Linked DNA regions of Homo sapiens: region 1 is linked to region 2. The links are contacts of gene promoters, found by promoter capture Hi-C in blood cells and fetal thymus (Javierre and others, 2016). All regions are on one chromosome and are shown on one strand. Each heading gives the region's core, a stretch centred on a gene start or on the middle of the fragment in contact. The rest is flanking DNA. Distances are from core to core; before and after follow the strand shown.

Region 1 (3,031 bases), core at 117-2,616, 250 kb after region 2:
GCTGGGATTAAAGGCGTGAGCCACTGCACCTGGCTTTTTTTTTTTTTTTTTTTTTTTTTACAACAGGTGGCCAGAAGTCTGAAATCAAGGTGTTGGCAGGTGTTTTTGTTTGTTTGTTTGAGACAGGGTCTCACTGTGTTACCCAGGCTGGAGTGCAGTGGCGTGATCTTGGCTCACTGCAGCTCCCAGGTTCAAGTGATTATCCTGCCTCAGCCTCCTGAGTAGCTGAGATTACAGGTGCCTGCCACCACGCCTGGCTATTTTTTGTGTTTTTAGTAGAGATGGGGTTCACCACATTGGCCAGGCTGGTCTCGAACTCCTGACCTCAAGTGATCAACCACCTCGGCCTCTCAAAGTGCTGGGATTACAGACGTGAGCCAGTGTCCTGGCAACCAAATTCATTTTGAATTGTTGCTCTTGGCCAGGCGCGGTGGCTCACACCTGTAATCCCAGCACTTTGGGAAGCTGAGGCAAGCGAATCATGAGGTCGGAGTTCGAGACCAGCCTGACCAACATGGTGAAACCGTCTCTACTAAAAATACAAAAATTAGCTGGGCGTGGTGGTGCATGCCTGTAATCCCAGCTACTCAAGTGGCCAAGGCAGAAGAATCGCTTAAACCTGGGAGGCAGAGGTTGCAGTGAGCTGAGATCGTGCCACTGCACTCCAGCCTGGGCGACAGAATGAGACTCCATCTCTAAATAAATAAATAGTTGCTCCTGGCTGCTGTGTGGAACCTGGAGTGGATTCAGAGAGAAGGGTGGAGGCTGGCACTGTTCTTTAGGGGAGCAATGATGGTGGCTTGGCGGGTGGTGGCCATGAAAATAAACATATCCTTTTATTATTCAGTCAACAAATGTTTAACTGAGCATCTACTATGTGCCAAGTATTGTTCTAAGTACTGAGGGATACAGAAGCAAACAAAACCAAGTCCCTGCCTGATTTGAAACAGGGACTTGATTTGAAATAGCCACTGGGCCAGTGGCTCATGCCTCTAATTCCAGCACTTTGGGAGGCTACGGTGGGTGGATCACTTGAGGTCAGGAGTTCGAGACTAGCCTGGCCAACATGGTGAAACCCTGTCTCTACTAAATAATACAAAAATTAGCTGGGTGTGATGGCACATGCTGTAGTTCCAGCTACTCCGGAGGTGGAGATTGCAGTGAGCTGAGATCGCACCACTGCACTCCAGCCTGGGTGACAGAGCGAGACTATGTCTCAAAAAAAAAAAAAAAAAAAAAAAAAAGATGAAACAGGAAGGTCCTTCACTGAGCAGATGGTATTTGAGCAACACCTTAGTGAGGGAGGAACCAGGTAGCTATTGTGGGGAGAACGTTGAGACCACCCCATATGCAGGTGCTGTGCCCGAGGCTTGCAGGGAGGTGAGTGGATCAAGTCGGGCCGCGGTGTTGGCATCTCCGTGGACGGCCCCCTTTTCTCTCCCAGGGGCCTGCGAGGTCAACCGCCAGAACCGAGCCGGCTACTCGGCCCTCATGCTGGCTGCACTCACCTCTGTGAGGCAGGAAGAGGAGGACATGGCTGTGGTCCAGAGACTCTTCTGCATGGGTGATGTCAATGCCAAGGCCAGTCAGGTGCGTGGGCGCCCCCACTGTGGCTCTCAGCCAGGAGTCACTTCCACTTTGGGAGTCAACCTGTGACCTCCCTTCCCTGAGCCTACCCCAGCCTGTTCCCTCTTCCTCCCCACTCCCCAGACGGGGCAGACAGCCCTCATGCTGGCCATCAGCCATGGCCGACAGGACATGGTGGCAACCCTACTGGCGTGTGGGGCTGATGTGAATGCGCAGGATGCGGATGGGGCCACAGCGCTGATGTGTGCCAGTGAGTATGGGCGCCTGGACACCGTGCGGCTGCTGCTCACCCAGCCAGGCTGTGACCCTGCCATCCTGGACAATGTAAGACCCCACAATGGGGCTGGCATCTTGGGGGGTGCCCATGGCTTGGCTCAGGGATCTGACTGTCCCTAACGTTCCACAGGAGGGCACCAGTGCCCTGGCCATCGCCCTGGAGGCTGAGCAGGATGAGGTGGCCGCTCTGCTACATGCCCACCTGAGCTCGGGCCAGCCCGACACCCAGGTGAGCACAGCTCTGGAAGAAACAAACTTTCCCAGCTGCAAATTCAGTTTGCAGAGGATAGTAAATATGCCCTGAGCCTCCCTTTCTGCTCCCCAAAGGTGGCACCAGGGGTGCAGAACCAGTGTCTGGATTCTCCTATGTGGCTGCTTTTCTTTTTTGGGAGACAGGGTCTCACTCTGTAACCCGGGTTGGGGTGTAGTGGTGTGATCAGAGCTCACTGCAGCCACAAACTCCTGAGCTCAAGGGATCCTTCTGCCTCAGCATCCTCAAGTGCTGGGATTACAGGTGTGAAACCAGAGCGCCTGGCAGGGGCTGGGATTTGATGTGAAAGCAGCAAAACCCCAGTGAGGTTGACACTACCCCAGGTCATGAGACTGAGTCCTCAAGGGGGGAAGTAACCTAAGGTCACAGAGACCTAGCTAAGACCTTTCATGCATGCCCCTGGGCTCCTGTTACCTACTGCCAGGGAGGCTCTTATCAAAGGAAAAAGGAGCCCTTTGGCATCAGGCAGGGTGGGGAAGGGGGTCCAGAGCTTCAGAACTGGAGACTGGGTGAGTTTGCAGAACACATTAACCCCCAACACCACTATACTCTGATGGCCAAGTGCCAGGATGTTTTAGCACTTTCATAATCCAAGTTATCTAATCAGCCCACTCATCCTGTACAGGTTGACCCCAATTTACCATGGCTCCACTTACCATTTTTTATTTATTTTTGAGATGGAGTCTTCCTCTGTCACCGAGGCTAGAGTGCAGTGGGGCGACTGCAGCTCACTGCAACCTCCACCTCTGGGGTTCAAGCGATTCTTCTGCCTCAGCCTCTCAAGTAGTTGGGACTACAGGCACGTGCTACCATGCCCAGCTAATTTTTTTTTTTCATTTGAAGACAAGAGTCTCGTTCTGTCACCCAGGCTGGAGTGCAGCGGCACAATCTCAGTTC
Region 2 (2,869 bases), core at 126-2,625:
GGGTCCCCCAGGGTCTCCCAGGGTCGGGTCCTGCCTCGGCCACCTCCTTGCTGGGTGGTGTGGGGAAGTAACAACCTATTAGAACTGCCATTTCCTCACATGTCAAGAGGAGCCTCAGGTGGTTGGCTGGTGTCCCAAAGACCAGCTCATAGGCTGACACGTACCTGGGCCAGGCTCTGCTGGGGGGACCCACGTTCCCATTTTACAATGAGAAAAGGGAGTAACTAAGTCATCCAGGAAGTAGCCAAACTGGAGGCTGTTAAATCTAGATGTGACATCCAAAGTCAGGGACCTTTCAGATGCACCTGCTTCCCAGTACCCTCCACTTCTGCACACAAACACGTGTGACTTCTGAGGGTCATCTAAAGAGGGAGGTTGGGCCAGGCGTGGTGGCTTATGCCTGTAATCCCAGCACTTTGGGAGGCCGAGTTGGGAGGATCACCTGAGGTCAGGAGTTCAAGGCCGGCCTGGCCAACATGGCGAAATTCCGTCTCTACTAAAAATACAAATATTAGCCAGGTGTGGCGGTGGGCACCTGTAATCCCAGCTACTCAGGAGGCTGAGGCAGGAGAATCGCTTGAACCCAGGAGGCGGAGATTAAAGTAAGCTGAGATTGCACCACTGCATTCTAGCCTGGGTGACAGAGCTAGACTCCGTCTCAAAATAATAACAATAATAATAATGAAGGAGGTTGCCCAGGGATGCCCAGAGCAGACACAGCTGAAGAAGGCACCCTTCCCTGTTGTTGTTGTTTTTTTGGTTTTTTTGTTTTTTCTGGTTTGTTTTTAGAGACAGGGTCTCACTCTTTCGCCCAGGCTGGAGTGCAGTGGCGCAATCAGGGCTCACTGAGGCCTCCACCTCCCAGGTTCAAGCAATCCTCCCACCTCAGCCCTCTGAGTAGCTGGGACTGCAGGCTCATGCCACCATGCCCAGCTAATTTTTTTTCTTTTCATTTTTTGTAGAGATGGGGTCATGCTATATAGCCCAGGCTGGTCTCAAACTCCTGGACTCAAGCGATCCTCCAACCTTGGCCCCCCAAAGTATTGGGATTACAGGCGTGAGCCACCTCCCCTGGGCCCCTTCCTTGGTTTTAAAAAGAGACCCGGGAAGCCCAAATGCTTCCTGAATCGCCCTGAAAAGAGGTGGTTCGTCCTGCAGCCAGCTGACCCAAATGTTCCTGCAGCAGCCCTGTCCCCAAGGAGTTGGGGAAGAGGCCTCTGAGGTCCAGTAGTGGCTGCCATCAAGTTCTGACCCCTCCCTTCAGGCTCAGAGCCCCAAACAGCCAGCTCCCCGCCCCCCTCCACACCCAGCTTCCCTCCCCCATGGCCTCGGCCCCTCCCGCCAAAGGAAGTGAGAAGGGGCTGTTGTAAGAGGAACTAAAGCCGGGAGTCCGGTGAACGGGCAGAAGCAGGGCCATGCCCAAGCCACCCCCAAGATCCCCCTGAACCTGCACCTCCATCACGACCCATTCAGGAGCCTCCAGGAGCCCAGACACCAGCCCCCCACCATGGTAAGTCCTTCAAGGGTGGGATCTGGAAGAAGAAAGAGGAGGGACACCAGCCAGGTGGAGGTGTCCTAAAAATGACCATCAGAAATTGGGGTGAGGGGAGGGGCATGGTGGACTTCTGTGGGGGTGGGGTGTCTCTCAGTGCAGCTCAGGTGCCTCCAGCATCCCTTACCAGGGAGCAAGCTCCCATCTGTAGGTGGTGGGGATGCCAGGGTGGTATCCCTGGATCCAAGGATAGGGCAGGACCTGGAAGACAGAAGGTGGCCCAGGGAGAATCACAGAGTCTGCAGGGACAAGGACATAGCCTCCTTTGCTTGCAAATTAAGGGAGCCCTTTCCCAGTCCAGCCCAGTCTCTCGTCTCCCTGTGTAGCCTTGGGCTAGTCACTTCCCCTCTCTTGGCCCCGGTTCCCACAGATGTCATATTTGGAAATCCGTCTAGATGCGGAAGTTGCTCTTCAGGGGTCTTTCAGTTGCAACATTCTCAAGGTCTGTGGGTTCTGCCACAGAGTCCTCGGCTGAGATGGGAAGCTATGTCTAACAAGCGATGGGGTGGATTGACGCCCTCCCTGTGCCGGTGACGGGCGGTATGGCTGCAGCAGAGGCAGGAGAGGCTGAATACGTCCATGCCACCCTTTGGTGGGCATCCCTTATCCCAAGAGGAGGATGGCAGCCAGAGGTGTTGCTGCCTGTCAAGTCTGAGGTCTGTCGATGATAGCAACGGGGAGACTGTCGTGATCATGGCGCTATTCCTAGCAGTATCGTACCACCATAAGACGCAAAGTAAGAGGTGGCCAGGGCTGACCCCACCCCACAGCTCTCTGCTGTGTAGACCACTTCAGCTTTCATTTCTCGTCATTCAGTCAGTGAGGATGAGAGCATGTGGCTGTGACAGCGGCCACTGCAGGATTCTTGGCAGGTACAGCTTACTAGGGTGGAGTCAGGGACATAGGGCAAGAGGCAGAGGTGGTGTTAGTCTGAGAGACAACACCTTCTTTCAGGAAGCCAGTGAGGGCCAGGGACAGTGGCTCATGCCTGTAATCCCAGCATTTTAGGAGGCTGAGACAGGTAGATCACTTGAGGTCAGGTGTTCGAGACCAGCCTGGCCAACGTGGTGAAACCTCGTCTCTACTAAAAAATACAAAAAATTAACTGGGCGTGGTGGCACACGCCTGTAATCCCAGCTACATATGAGGCTGAGGCAAGAGAATAACTTGAACCCAGGAGGCGGAGGGTGCAGTGAGCTGAGATCCTGCCGCTGCACTCCAGCCTGGGTGACAGAGCACACTCCGTCTCAAAAAAGGAAAGCTGATGAGAAATTGGGCATCCCGGAATTCACACCCAAACCATCAGCTGGAGCTCTG

What was found. The method cuts DNA at HindIII sites, captures the fragments that hold promoters and counts their contacts. A CHiCAGO score of 5 or more calls a contact.
Region 1: a fragment that was not itself captured here is called in contact with the fragment with the promoter of MYO1F in region 2 in 1 of 17 cell types (neutrophils); the score reaches 5.1 in neutrophils.

The regions. Positions count from the first base shown.
Region 1 is chr19:8,323,510-8,326,540 of GRCh38, reverse strand. It overlaps KANK3 (KN motif and ankyrin repeat domains 3), which reads left to right. Exons shown (of 11, transcript NM_198471.3): 8 at 1,445-1,590; 9 at 1,711-1,911; 10 at 1,994-2,092. Among named protein-coding and RNA genes, the nearest start is that of RPS28, 3.5 kb to the right of the region's middle. The HindIII fragment of the contact is 3,860 bases long and covers 1-3,031 here.
Region 2 is chr19:8,575,948-8,578,816 of GRCh38, reverse strand. It overlaps MYO1F (myosin IF), which reads left to right and starts at 1,375. Exons shown (of 28, transcript NM_012335.4): 1 at 1,375-1,510. The coding sequence starts at 1,508. RefSeq lists silencers at 1-43, 1,264-1,413, 1,951-2,000 and enhancers at 2,121-2,300, 2,471-2,530. The HindIII fragment of the contact is 24,150 bases long and covers 1-2,869 here.